Linked DNA regions of Homo sapiens: region 2 is linked to region 1. The links are contacts of gene promoters, found by promoter capture Hi-C in human tissues and cell types (Jung and others, 2019). All regions are on one chromosome and are shown on one strand. Each heading gives the region's core, a stretch centred on a gene start or on the middle of the fragment in contact. The rest is flanking DNA. Distances are from core to core; before and after follow the strand shown. Region 1 holds the start of SPRYD3 (SPRY domain containing 3). Region 2 overlaps PCBP2 (poly(rC) binding protein 2).

Evidence for each region. The method cuts DNA at HindIII sites, captures the fragments that hold promoters and counts their contacts. A contact is called where the count stands out against the background at its distance.
Region 2: a fragment that was not itself captured here is called in contact with the fragment with the promoter of SPRYD3 in region 1 in 1 of the 25 tissues and cell types used here (dorsolateral prefrontal cortex).

What each region holds. Positions count from the first base shown.
Region 1 is chr12:53,076,081-53,083,589 of GRCh38, forward strand. It overlaps SPRYD3 (SPRY domain containing 3), which reads right to left and starts at 3,310. Exons shown (of 11, transcript NM_032840.3): 1 at 3,231-3,310; 2 at 1,035-1,181. The coding sequence starts at 3,253. RefSeq lists a silencer at 3,011-3,290. The HindIII fragment of the contact is 7,407 bases long and covers 1-7,316 here.
Region 2 is chr12:53,471,989-53,479,497 of GRCh38, forward strand. PCBP2 (poly(rC) binding protein 2) reads left to right here. Exons shown (of 15, transcript NM_031989.5): 15 at 7,418-7,509. The coding sequence ends at 7,454. Among named protein-coding and RNA genes, the nearest start is that of PCBP2-OT1, 11 kb to the left of the region's middle. The HindIII fragment of the contact is 4,559 bases long and covers 1,709-6,267 here.

The DNA of each region.
Region 1 (7,509 bases), core at 2,060-4,559:
TTACTTGCCTAAGAGAGGTCTCACAACCCTGTGTAACCTCAATCTCTCATGCTGCAGCTTCAGCCCTTTTCCTCTGGCTCTGTCCTCAGTGGAGCTGGAGAATAATGGCTGGTCTCTATCCTCTTTACCAAAGCCCTTCATCGATTGGAAGACAGTGATTCAGTTCCCACTCCTCAGCTTTCTTGCCTCTAGTTAAACAGTACTACTTTCTTCCCCCTTCAGTGGAACTCTGTGAGAGCATGGGCTCAGAAGGAGTCAGGGAAGGGGTTCAAGCCAGAAAAGAGGGAGGAAACACACACAAGCTAAGGGGCTGGAAATACAGGAGTTGGTGGACAGGGTACACTATAGAATGGCCCTTCCCCAAACAGGAAATCAACTATCTCTGAAACAGCCACTCTTCACTAGATCTAATCCCTGAGACAGTGGCAGAAGACTCAGTTACCCCACTGGAGTCTTCTCAACAAAGCACCTAGGAAGCTTCTGAGACCCCAGCAGCCTCCTGTGTCTGATGTGATCCCTTCCCCTACCCAGCTGGATCCCCTCCTTGCTGGATGAGGACAGAGCCACCCAGTGACAGAGGCAGAGGTGAGTGCAGGGTGAAGCAGCACACACTGCTCCACTCAGAAAGGCCTCTGGGCGGGTGGATCACTTGAAGTCAGGAGTTCAAGACCTGCCTGGCCAACATGGTGAAACCCTGTCTCTACCAAAAATATAAAAAATCAGCCGTATGTGGTGGTGCACGCCTGTAATCCCAGCTACTTGGGAAGCTGAGGCAGGAGAATCGCTTGAACCCAGGAGGCGGAGGTTGCAGTGAGCTGAGATCACGCCACTGCACTGTAGCCTGGGTGACAGAGCGAGACTCTGTCTTAAAAAAAAAAAAGAAAAAGAAAGGCCTCTGGAGTCAAGAGCATCGCCCTTCCCTGTGCAGTGCACAGTCCCCTTCTCTGAAAAAATAAAAGTTAAAAAAAAAAAACCCTTTCCTCTCTAAGATCTGGAACAGAGAAGAAAATGTGGAAGCATTCTCCTGAACTCACCTTAAAGTATCTCCATCTACAAGGATATGTTTGAACCTCTCCTGATATCGGAAAGCTCGGACCTCTCGAATCTCCCGGATCCGCCGGCGCCAATTCAGAAACCGGTAGTGCAGGTTGAGGTCATCCATCTTGTTCATGAGAACAAACCTGCCAAGGGGAGAAGGGGATTGAGGAGAAAGCAGGGCCCTAGGTAAAGCACCTCAGCCTCTGTGACCCAGAAGGTAGAGAAGGCACTGGCCTTGAGGCCAGCTGCCCAGATTGACCTCAACAACCCTCATCTTCTTTCTTCCATTCAACAAACATTTACCAAGCACCTACTCTGTGTGCTTTTCTCCGTGCTAGGGATGGAGCTGTGAACAAGATGGACAGGATTCCCATTCTCACAGGCTGGGAGGTGGACACGACAGGCAATAAACAGACATAATTTCAGGCAGTGGAGAAAAGAACAGGGTGATATGATAAAGAATCTGGAGGCAGTGGATAGAGTGGACAGAGGCGGTCTCTCTGAGGAGGTGACATTTGAGTTGAAAAGGAGCTAGGCATGACAAGCCAGGCATATTCCAGGCAGGAAGGGCAGCCACAGGTCCTTGGATGGAAGAGAGCTGGCATGGTAGAGAAACAGAAAAAGGCATGGACAGCTGGTATATAGGGAATGTGAGGGAGAATGTACAAGATGAGAATAAGGCAGGAGTCAGATCATGGCCCTACAGACAATGAAATGGTAAGGACTCTGGATTTTATTCCAAGATGGAAATTTCTGGAGGGTTGTAAGCAAGGAAATGCCATGATTGGCTGGGTATGATGGCTCATGCCTGCAATCCCAGCACCTTGGGAGGCTGAGGCAGGAGGATCGCTTGAGGCCAGGACCCAGACCAGCCTGGGCAACGTAGTGAGACCTCATCTCTACTAAAAATTAAAACAATGAGCCAGGTGTGGCAGCATGCACCTGTAGTCCCAGCTACTAAGGAGACTGAAGATGGCTTGAGTCTGGCAGGTCAAGGCTGCAGTCAGTTCTGATTGTGCCACTACATTCCAGCCTGGCTGACAGAGCAAGACCCTGTCTCAAAAAAAAAAGAAAAAAAAATGCCATGATCCTGGGCCTGGTGGCTCACGTCTGTGATCCCAGCACTTTGGGAGGCCGAAGTGGGAGGATCACAAGGTCAGAAGTTGAAGACCAGCCTGACCAACATGGTGAAACCCCATCTCTACTAAAAATACAAACAAATTAGCCAGGCGTGGTGGTGCGCACCTGTAATCCCAGCTACTCAGGAGGCTGAGGCAAGAGAATTGCTTGAACCTGGGAGGTGGAGTTTGCAGTGAGCCGAGATCGTCCCACTGCACTCCAGCCTGGGTGACAGAAACTCCATCTCAAAAAAAAAAAAAAAAGCCACGATCTTAATCAGTTCCTAAAGATCATTCCAGCTGCTGGTTGGAGAACTGATCACAAGAGGATCAAGAACAGATGTGGGCAAACAATTCAGACGTTGTTGCAGCAGTTCACATGAGAAATGACATCCACTAAGTCGGTAGCAGCGCCGATGGATGGGGGTGGGATGATCCAGGTATTTAAACAACCATCAGTCCCTACATATAAATGAATGAATGATTTTTCCTGGGAGCCAAAAGTGAGAAAGAGGTGAAGTACTCTTCTCTTCCCATTCCCTAAACACTGGGACAGGGGTTTTCTTGAGGCCTGACATTGCCTTGCACACGGTAGGTGCTTAGTAAGCCTTGGCTGGGCTGAATTTGATCCCAATACGCAAATTACGACTCTTATGCAGTAGCTACAACCCACCACGTGGCCCAGAAGAGTAGGCACCTGTGGGACAGACAGCCCTAAGATTCCACTCCCGGGCACTCAGCCAGGACTCAACCCCAGGTAGATGCTGGTTGCGCAGACCCCACAGTCTTGGCACCGGCGAGTGGCGGCCCTACTGGGCCCTGTCTCCTCCCCGGGCACGGCCTGATCACTGAGATGAGACCCGGGAGCAGCCGGGCCCCAGCCCATCCGTGTGCCTACGCCCAGTCTCCCCAGGCCCTGCACTGGGCCGAGGGTGCAGCAACAGAAGAAGCCCAGTGACCAGAGCGCAGGGCCCCGCCCCTGGCCCCAGAGCCCCCGCCCAGGACCCCCGCCTTCCGCTTCAGGCTCCGGGGAGATACGAGGCCTCCGGGACCCCGCCCCCGATCCCCGCCTACCGGGGCCGCCGCGTCCTCCTCATCCATAGGCCTCTCAGCTCCGCACACAAGCTCTTCGGCCGCCGCCACCACACACATCCGGGTCCCCGCCTTTCCTTCACTCCTAGAGGCCCGCCCCGTCCCCCATCTAAGCCAATCAGCAACGGCCTCTGACGACGGGCACCTGCAGGAGCCAATCGGAAGGCGCAGGCAGGGTGTGGGGCGCGGCCCGGTGCCCTGGGTACCCAGCTCAGGGCCCCGGTCTGGTCAACCCGGCTGTTGCTGGGGTGAGCGAAGGCGACGTGGCAGCGCGGACGCTGCTGGGTGCCTGGGCGCCGCTGAGGCGGACAGGGGGCGGCTCTTGAGCGGCGCCGGGGAGACGGGACGGGCGGAGAAGGTGGCCACGCTCGCACAAACGTTGCGAGTATTACTTGAGCCCTCCTTCCGCGCTGGACTGAAATAAAAGCTTTACCGGAATGTCCATTTAATCCACGGTGCAGCCTTATGAAATAAATCTTATCTCCTTTTTACGGATGGGCCGAAGGCTGGCCTCGATAGCCTGCGCGCTTAACTGTTATGCTGTGTACCCTCCCGAGCTCTGTTTCATGGCACCGCTCGCTCATTATTGGCAAGAACATTCCATTCCAGGAGGAGAGAACTGGGGATGCAGAAGGCACAGTGGCACGAAGCGGCATTCTGTGGAGGAACACAGGGCTTTGGTAGGCTGAAGGAAAGTTAGACTGGGGTTAGAATGTGAAGGGACGAAGACACGAATATTTATTGAACACCTACTAGGGAGTGCCTACCTGCCATTCTGGGGGGTTGGACTCCTAGATGAGGACTTCCTTGCTCCCTTCCCATCACCATATCTCTCTCTTCTGGACGGAAAAGATTCCTCTCCTCTGTAGCACCTCATTTATAATACTTTTTTTTTTGAGACGGAGTCTCACTCTGTCGCCCAGGCTGGAGTGCAGTGGCGCGATCTCGGCTCACTGCAAGCTCTGCCTCCTGGGTTCACGCCATTCTCCTGCCTCAGCCTCCCAAGTAGCTGGGACTACAGGCGCCCGCCACCACGCCAAGCTAATTTTTTTTGTATTTTTGGTAGAGACGGGGTTTCACCGTGTTAGCCAGGATGGTCTCGATCTCCTGACCTCTTGATCCGCCCACCTCGGCCTCCCAAAGTGTTGGGATTACAGGCGTGAGCCACCGCCCCCCGCCATTTATAACACTTATTACCGTCTTGCTTTCGTTATTGGAGTTACTTGTGTGTGTAGACCCGTCTCTGCTAGACTGTGAGCTCCTTCAGACCCCAGACTATTCTATTCTTATCACACTAGGTACTCTAACGTGTTGAGTGCCAGGAAAGCCATCAGCTCGCATACCGTGAATAGTGCCCACTCGGCATAACGGCAATGGGTGATAGGAATAGATGAGATGGGAAACAGAGAAACCCGGATTAGAGCCCCAATTCTGTGTGACTAAAAGGTCAAGGTCTTGGTGTTCTCATCCCTAAACAAGAATTATTGAAGTATGTGTTCTTTTAGCTCCCTTCCAGCCCCTGGATGACTCAGTTCTGAATAGCTACCCTTCCAACTCATCTCCACCTCCTTTTGATTCCCTCATTGCTTCTCCTCCGCTCCTCTTCTTGTGTTATGAAAATACCTCAACACTGAGCTCAGCTCTTCCCAAAGGCAGCCAGAGAGGGACAATCTTAGGAGGCTGCCAGAGTCATGTTCATCCCAGACCAGGGCTCATTCCAGAAACTAACTAGCTAGGTGGCTAGGGTCAGACATGGAGAGAAATGGCAGAAGAAGGCATTTCCAAACTGTTACTGATGGTTGGTGATTCCACTCGGGATTTCCTCACCTTTAAGTTCCAGATGTGGGGCTCACCTTTTTGGCGAATTCTCCATCCATTGGCATGCTCAGGACCCAGTTGGTAATTTGTGTTTGGTGTCTACATGTATTTGAATAAACAACTTTATTGCCATATAACCGACATACAATAAACCATATATATTTAAGGTGTACAATTTATTCCTTTCTTTTTTTAATTAGAGACGAAGTCTCACTGTGTTGCCCAGGCTAGTCTCAAACTCCTGAGCTCAAGCAACCCTCCCACCTCAGCCTCCCAAAGTTCGAGGATTACAGGTATGAGCCACTGCACCTAGCCAAGGTATACAATTTGATAAGCTACTTATATACCTATGAAAATGAAAATGTCACCACACCCAAGATAGTGACCATATCATCATCATCCCTAAAAATTTCCTCATGCTCCTTTATAATCCCTCTCTCTCACTCTTTCATCCCTAGGAACCACTAATCTGCTTTTTGAAACTTTTTTTTTTGAGACAGAGTCTCACTCTGTCGCCCAGGCTGGAGAGCAATGGGGCAATCTTGGCTCACTACAACCTCCACCTCCCGGGTTGAAGGGATTCTCCTGCCTCAGTTTCCCAAGTAGCTGGGATTATAGATGCCCGCCACCACGCCTGGCTAATTTTTGTATTTTTAGTAGAGACGGAGTTTCACTATGTTGGCCAGGCTGGTCTTGAACTCCTGCCTCAGCCTCCCAAAGTGCTGGGATTACAAGCATGAGCCACCGCGCCCAGCCCACTAATCTGCCTTTTTGTCACTATCTTAGTTAGCATTTCCTAGAATTTTATGTAAGTGGAATCATACAGTAAATCCTCTTTGAGGAGGGATGTGTCTGGCTTCTTTTGTTCAGCGTAATTACCTTGAGAGATTCATCCATATTGTTGTTTGTGTTAATAGTTTTTATTTATTTATTTATTTGGGGCAGGGTCTTGCTCTGTTGCCCAGGCTGGAGAGCAATGGCGTGATCAAGGCTTATTGCAACTTCAAACTCCTGGCCTCAAGTGATCCTCCCACCTTGGCCTCTCGATTGTTCCTTTTTATTGCTGAATAGTATGCTATTGTTGGAATATATTACAATTTATTTATTCACTTGTTGATGGACATTTGGATTTTTTCAGTTTTTGGCTATTACAAATAAAGCTATGATGAATATTCATGTACAAGTCTTTGTATGGACATATTTCATCTTCTTTTTCTTTTTATTGAGATGGAGTCTCACCCTGTCACCCAGGCTAGAGGGCAGTGGCATGATCTTGGCTCACTGCAACCTCCACCATCCAGGTTCAAGTGATTCTTGTGCCTCAGCCTCTCAAGTAGCTGGGACTACAGGCATGTGCCACCACGCCTGGCTAATTTTTTTTTTTTTGTATTTTTAGTAGAGATGGGGTTTCACCGTATTGGCCAGGCTGGTCCAGAACTCCTGACCTCACGTGATCTGCCCACCTTGGCCTCCCAAAGTGTCATTTTCTCTTAAGTAAATATCTAGGAGTGAATGGCTCAGTCACATGGTAGATGTACGGTTCTTAATTGGTTAAAAAGCATCACACTGTTTTCAGAAGTAGTTGTATCATTTTACATTCCTATCAGCAGTGTGTGAGTGTTCTAGTTGTTCCACATCCTTGCCATCACTTGGTATGGTTATTCTTTTTACTTTCAGCCTTCCTAATAGGTAGGTATCACAGTGTATGAGGGTTCCAATTTGTCTACATACTCAACAACACTTGTTATTATCTCTTTTTGATTATAGCCACTTAGTGTGAAGTGGTATCTCATTTCACTTTTGATTTCCATTTCCCTAATGACTAACGAGGTTGAGCATCTTTTCATATGCTTATTTGTCATCCATATATCTTCTCTGGTGAAGTATCTGATTAAATCACTTGCTCATTTCAAAAAATTGTTTCTTATTGCATTTTGAAAGTCTTTATATATTCTAGATTCAAATTCTTTATCAGATATGTGCTTTACAAATATTTTCTTCTAGTCTGCAGCTTGTCTTCTCATGTTTTTAACGGAGTTGTTCAGGCTGGGCATGGTGGCTCACACCTGTAATTCCAGTGCTTTGGGAGGCCAAGGCAGGGAGAATTGCTCAAACCCAGGGGTTCAACACCAGCCCTGGCAATACAGTGAGACCTGGTCTCTACAGAAAATTTAAAAATTAGCCAGTCTGTTGGCACACACTTGTAATCCTAGCTTCTTGGGAGGCTAAGATGGCAGGATCACTTGAGCCCAGGAGGCAGAGGTTGCAGTGAGCCATGGTTGTGCTGCCACTGCACTCCAGCCTGGACAACAGAGTGAGACCCTACCTCAAAAAAAAAAAAAAGTTCTGCCGGGTGCAGTGGCTCACAACTGTAATCCCAGTACTTTGGGAGGCCGAGGTGGGCAGATCACCTGAGGTCAAGGTCGGGAGTTCGACACCAACC
Region 2 (7,509 bases), core at 2,738-5,237, 400 kb after region 1:
TTTTCAAGGGGTTGGTGGGGGGGGGAGCACAGATTGCCCGCATTTAACTTGATGGTTTGGTAAGAGGGAAGAGTGGTCCTTGTCTTCAGTAAGAGTCCTCTGGCTAGAGCACTCACAAAATCAAATGTGGGTCTCTCTTGTTCTACATAGCATATAGACTACTATTTCTTTCACTGATTTGATTTGGAGTCCAAAGCACCCTTAATTGTAATAAGGACATTGGAGTAATAGGACAGCAAGGCAGTTTCTGGGAGGCAGCAATTACCATTTATTCTGGAAACACCCATTTTTCTCACACTGCATGTGTGTTTTATTCAGAGCTTGTGGGAATGTGGGAAGCACAGGTATTGGAATGTTTCGGAAGTGTGAAGTGTGTTTTCTATCTCACTCCTCCCCCAATCTCATCCCTTAATGACTTCCTGAGGGTTTTATTTCCCTTATCCATAGCTAGGTAGTGTTACTACTCTCAATTTTAGGACACTGTTCACAGTCAAATGGGATCCTACAGTCATTTATATTACTTGCTTTCTCAACTCATGGGCTGAAGTCACACCCTTAATTGCTTACTAATATTTCAAAGCATTGTTAGCCTTGAGGCCCTTAGGTCTCTTTTAATAGGGAATGTTGTCTAGTTATCATTTACCTTTCTTATAAGTGTTTAATCTCTTTGTCATAAAAGTTTTACATGAGTTCCTGAATCTAGTACAGGGGAAAGGAATTCCTAAGTATGTGGTCTGTATTGTGCTTGTACTGACCATGTATATATGCTATGGTTATTTAGTGCTAGCTAAGAACATACCATTTCCCCAGTAGCAGTCTGACTTTTGCCTTAAGACTTCATATCTTGAGGTGCTACTACTCTTTGTGTAGAAAAGCTTTCCCTTTCCTAGATTTGTTTTCTTGTCCACCCACCAAGCACACTAGGTCCTTAATGTTGAGAATGAAATGGTAGTAGTAAACTTTTGCACCAAGGTTGTTTGCAAAGAGGTCTTTTTCTTTTTTAGAGATAGGGTTTCATGTTGGTCAGGCTCGTCTCCAACTCCTGACCTCAAGTGATATGCCTCCCAAAGTGCTGGGATTACAAGAATTGTTTTTCTTTCTTTTTTTTTTTTTTGAGACGGAGTCTTGCTCTGTCACCAGGCTGGAGTGCAGTGGCTCCATCTCGGCTCACTGCAACCTCTGCCTCCTGGGCTCAAGTGATTCTCCTGCCTCAGCCTCCCAAGTAGCTGGGACTTACAGGCACGTGCCACCACGTCCAGCTAATTTTTGTATTTTTAGTATAGACGGGGTTTCACCATGTTGGCAAGGATGGCCTCGATCTTTTGACCTTGTCATCCACCTGCCTCGGCCTCCCAAAGTGCTGGGATTACAGGCGTGAGCCACTATGCCCAGCTTGTTTTTCTTATTTGTAATTAGGATTTTGGAGGGCAAGAAGTTTTCAGTTTTCAGTGGCAAGAATCAGGTTTTTGAAAGCTGGAATTTGTTTTGTTCTTTCGATAGGCTTGCCCTTCATGTAATTTAAATTGTGACTGTTTAAATGTGACCTGCTTGCCTAGCTCCTGCAATAGGTCAGTGGCTACATTGTAAGGAAGCAGAATTCTCTTGGTAGAGTGGCTCTTTTCAGGATCATTGTTACTGAATAGCAATTCGGTATCTTAGCCATGGATTAGGGTCAAAACTTTTCAAAGCTTCATCTAACACCAAAGCAAAGATTATGCATGCACAAAGCTTATTCTTTCTCAACTTGGTGCAGTTTAAATGCAGAAGTCAAAGGGTTTTTTTTTTTTTCCTTTCTCATTTTTTTTAAGTCAAGAAGGATTTTACTGGATTCTGAGCATTTTCTCCTGTCTCTTGATTTTTCATGGTGGCAGTCTGTCCTTTTATATAGTTAGTTGACTTCTGTATCCCTTTCCTTTATGGATTGCAGCTGTCCTTGGACATAGGTAAATAAAATGAGGTTTTAAGAGGAGCCTTTCTGCTCTTGAAGACTTAGCGTTGTGGGCTCAATTGTCCAGGCACACTTCCCAAATATATGTAGTTCTGGCTTAGACACATACAGGCATTTGGGAGACATGTACCCTTACTGTTCTGTGGAGCTTATTTTGGGAGTGGAAGCAGCAGCATTTTCGCTTAAGTATGAATTTTTAGGTGATACTTGAGTTTCTCTTTTCCACTTCTGAAAGGTCCACATTAGAAGTATGATCAGTCAGAAACAACTTTTTATACCACCTCCCACCAGAAAAGCTTCCCTAGTTCTTATCTACACTTCTGTTCTCAGCATTTTTCTTTGAAAACGCTACATTCTTTGAAATTTGAAATTAGTCAGTGACCTACTTTGGACTCTTGTCTCTTTCCACCCTGATACTGGTTTGTTTGCTGTGGAGATGTAAGCAGACTTTAATACATAGCTGGAAGGATTTTTAAAAATTCTGCTTTATAAATATTCAAAGCTTCACAAGTAATTGTGGGATAATTGATTTTCTGTTAGAATAGGAAATTGACATTTGATTAGAGGAAACATTTCTTCCTTGTTGGGTGATTGATGAGTATCTTTTTCTACCCGAAATCATTCCTTCAACATCTGGGTTGGGTCAGTGTGTCAGATACATGAAGTATGTGCCCTATGATTTCTTTTCTCTGTCAGCTTTTTCTTCACCATAGCAGTTTTTAAGTAGCTCTGTGGAATGGAAATATACATATTTAGAGGGTGGGACATAGGCTAAAAGAAAGCTTGTCACAAGTTGACACTAGGTCTTCCTAATTGTCAACCAGAGGCACTTACTGATATAACTGAAGCAGTTTTTGTCCTGTACTTACTCCCTTTTGTGGTCTTCCCTTCCACCCACCCTTTTTTTTTGTTCCTTTTTTCCTCTGTTACAGTTTAGAAAACGCTAAACCCTCCTCCCAGGCAGCCTCCGTCACGATCCCTGATCACCTCAGCATCAACCTCTCTCAACCCTCCACCCCTTCTTCTTCTTCCTCCTCCACCACCACCCCCTCGCTCGCCACAGCGGGGACCTCCGACGCACCCTCCAGCCTCCCCAACCCTCTTCCGACCGCCCCTTGTGTCTCCAGTCTGCTTGGCATGAAACCCATCCCTCTCCTGGCTCTAAATGTTGTGTCTGCTGCTAAGGGTACCGGGGCTTCAGCTACCACCACCACCACCTCTGCCGTGCCATGTGTAACTAACAAACTGAAAGGCGAGAAACAGAGATTCTCTCCCTACTGATTGCATACCTTGAGGCACCTCCTCCAGTATTATTTTGTTCATTTTGTTTTCCTTTGTTAACATTGGTGAGAATGAAACTATTGTGAGCTTGTTACCGTTTCCTTTTTACTACTTTGGGGGATAACTGGGTGGGGGTGGGGGAGTGGTAACCCTTGTTTAGGTTTAGGCCATTTCAGCTGAGTGCCTGTTTCAGGGTCTGACTTGAATTCTTTATCTAGAGCCACAGTTTTCTCTTCTTTCTTGTTTGTTACTTTTCTTTGTAGCTTTATTCTGCCTTGCAATATAACAATGTGTTAGGCTCTGTGTTAATGAATAAAAGCTGCTTCGTTAACTTTTTTTTTTTTTTTTAAGAATTATTTAATGGTTAAGCTATCAGCAGGCCTTCTTGGCCATATTTGTGTTTCTAGCTGTAATAAAGTTGGCGCAGTAAGAACCTTAGTACACTGTGTGCTGTGAAGGGTAAAGGGTTGGGGGCTTGTGACTTGTGGCTATTCAGCTAGGAAGCCTGTATAACTGACATGGGCTTTTTGAATCCCAAGTGAATTTTATAGTCGTTTGTCAATATTTCCACAAAGAGATAACGAGTCTGTGGCAGTTTAGATCCTGAAGGTCCTCTGTAATTGGCAACAAGCTTCACTAGTGAGGAAGTTTATCTGACTTCTCAGATGGCCTTACCTTGCCAGCAGCAGCTAACAAGGTGTTCATCCCAGGATTCCTCTGGTGAATGGTTACCATGAGGATCTCTTCCAAGTCATACATTCAAAGAACATACTTCTTTACCCAGAATGAAGGGGAGGGGCAAAGTGGGATAAGTCTAATAAAATTAGGCAGCTTCTGTCTGCATTCCTCTGAATTAGCATTATGCCTCTTTCTGTGACATTAGGTATATCTCAGCCAACCCGTGACATTATCCACAACTTGACATGATGCCATCCACTAGTCCTAAACCAACTCTGTCAACCAAGTTTCTTTACCCTTTTTTCTATTCCTGGCCGTATCCTTTCTGCTCCCCACCAGCACTATCAGGAGTAGGAAGTGACATGCTTAGATTTGGAAGGAACCTTAAGGATCAACTAATCTGTAACACATTGATCCCCTCATTTTACAGATTAAAAAATAGAGGCCCTAAGATAATTTAAATTCATAGGTTATGAGTGACTAGCCAGGACTAACAACTTAAGCTTTACTTTTACTCAATCGTACTAACCTCCCTGAAATCTTGTTCATTTTCTTATACTAAGATGGGCACAGGCCTCTCATAAAACAGTAGAAATGTTCTTAGTATGGTGGTATAAGGCCTCTGATAGCCTTCCATTCAACGAGAGTACACGTTGCCACAGTGCTGAAAGTGTAATGCTCTTCCCAGGGCATTAGAGAACTCAGTGTAGAGATAGTTTCCCTGATGACCTTTTCCCAGCATCACCATTGGCTGACAAAAAAAAAAAAGCTGTTAGTATTCCAATATATTATCTCATTCTTTGATGTTATTTTGGCCCCTCCATCCCAGATTGGGCCTGTGAAGAAGTGTTACACGTCTCAAGTATGCATAAAGGATTAGATGGCCAAACCTGTCCAGTAAGGAGTTTTATTTAGTTGCTCCTTTATCATGTGGTCCAGCTCTCTCCCTTGGTAAGCTTGCTCCTCCTGTAGTTAGGACTTAATCATGCTGATACCATCTCCCCCCAGGGATGTGGTTTTATCTAGTTCTTGATTGGAAGGCCTCTTAACCTAATGGCTATTCCCCAAGGAAGGATTCCACATGTTTAAGGGTCTAGCTACCATCACTACCTCCAAAGGGCCTCAGTTTTAAATTTTTTTAAACCCTAGAGCTCCCCCATGTGGTCTTTTATCCTAGAGTACCTGACTCAGTATTTCATAGCATCCCCTTCTCCCTGCGTCACCTCCCCCACCCCAGCAAATCCCCATTCGGGCTTGATACACATTCAGAACATTTCTTTCAGAGCTCTGGTGGGGCCAGAGTGCTACCACCAATTTTTATGAACTTAAATTTTCAGGTCCTAGATCTAATGGTATCTAGCAGTTCCTTTCTTAGACCTTCAGTTCTTACTGAACCCTTTAATCCAGGGCTATTGTTTACCTTTCCTTAGATCATTGTGTTTTGAAATTGGCACGAATCTACCCCCCTTTTAAGAACTAAATATCCCCTGCCGGGCACGGTGGCTCACGCCTGTAATCCCAGCACTTTGGGAGGCCGAGGCGGGTGGATCACGAGGTCAGGAGATCAAGACCATCCTGGCTAACACAGTGAAACCCCGACTCTACTAAAAACATAAAAAAATTAGCTGGGCATGGTGGTGGGCGCCTGTAGTCCCAGCAACTCGGGAGGCTGAGGCAGGAGAATGGCGTGAACCTGGGAGGCGGAGCTTGCAGTGAGCCGAGACCGCGCCACTGTACTCCAGCCTGGGTGACAAAGCAAGACTCTGTCTCAAAAAAAAAAAAAAAAAAAAAAAAAAAAACCCTAAATATTCCCTTAATACTGAGGTGGAGAAACCATTTCTGACTAAAAGTAAATAGTTTGTAGTCGAAGGACTTTGCAGTTTTTTGGCCCTTGCTTTTCTACCCAGCTTTTGGCTTTGCATTGTTGTGGAAGGGATACAGATGGTGAATTACCAATCATGTTTTCATGACCACATATCACAAATATTTTATGCTAATCAGTTTAAAATCTTATGAAATAACTTATCTTATGAACTGAAATGAAGTCTTATACATTTGGTTCTATTCAAAATGAGGGCAAAGTCTTGCTGCCTACCTACCTACCAGTGAAGCATACTGAGTACTTAAATACTTTTCCCTGAAAGCCCTAAATTGGATTCCAGGACCTCAAATGACTATCTCTTTGAAACAGAAAGGCATTGTAGCCAGGTATGTTTAGATGGAGGATATGGCTTGACAAGATCTAGGAGCTTGTAGAGTGAGCTACAGAGTTGAAACAAATTATTTTGTCTGCTACTTTTAAGTCCTGAAAACTTTTTAAAGAACTTTTTAAGGCCGGGTGTGGTGGCTCATGCCTAATCCTAGCACTTTGGGAGGCCAAGACAAGTGGATCACCTGAGGTCAGAAGTTTGAGACCAGCCTGGCCAACATGGTGAAACTCTGTCTCTACTGAAAATACAAAAATTAGCTGGGCATGGTGACAGCTGCCTGGAATTGCAGCTACTCAGGAGGCTGAGGCAGGAGAATCGCTAGAACACGGGAGGCAGGGGTTGCAGTGAGTTGAGATTGCGCCATTGCACTCCAGCCTGGGTGAAACTCAGTCTCAAAAAAATAAATAAATAAATAAGGCCAGGCGCGGTGGCTCATGCCTGTAATCCCAGCACATTGGGAGGCAGAGGCAGGCAGATCACCTGAGGTCAGGAGTTTAAGACCTGCCTGGGAAACCTGTTGAAGCCCCGTCTCTACTAATAATAGAAAAAGTAGCTGGGAGTGGTGGTGGCTGCCAGTAATCCCAGCTATCAGGTGGAGGCTGAGGCAAGAGAATTGCTTGAGCCAGGGAGGCACAAGTTGCAGTGAGGCAAGATCACATCACTGTACTCTAGCCTGGGTGACAGAGCTAGACTCTGTCTCAATAAATAAGTAAATCTGAGTATAATTCTTGACCCATAGTTACTCTTTTTACATCTCTTTTTAACATTTTTTTTTTTACCTTTAAAACGGTATTACCTCATAATACCCTACACATTGATAGAACTCCAGGGCTTTAAAGTAAAGGCCTTGAGTTGTCTCAGCATTAAACCCTTGAGACTACTCTCAGATGACTCTTTCTTTCCTAAACTGGTATTCTGTCAGCAGTTTGGGAGGAGCCAAAGTGAGCTCAGCAATAAAGAAACATTGCTTCTGTGTATTGTGAGCACTCTTTAGAGGGGCCTGTTTCCAGAAAGTACACTCCTTGGTTAGCCCACCATGGAGGTGGAACTAAAAGAGAACATAGTTTGAGGGACATTGGATAACAAGGGCTGTTTCCCTTGGTTCTGAGGTAATAGACCTCCACATGCTTGAATTGCAAGGATTAAAGGATCATGGTACTGGTAAATTTAAGAAACCTTAAAATGTCTCCCTTGGTACTCCAGCACTGGTTATTTACTCTTCACATTTCATGAACCAGGTAGAGATGAGGTGCAGCTGAGCACTGGGGAAACTAACTGAGTTCTTGTTTCTGTGTTACAGGCTTTCCTCGGAGACGGGTGGCATGGGGAGCAGCTAGAACAATGCAGATTCATCCATAATCCCTTTCTGCTGTTCACCACCACCCATGATCC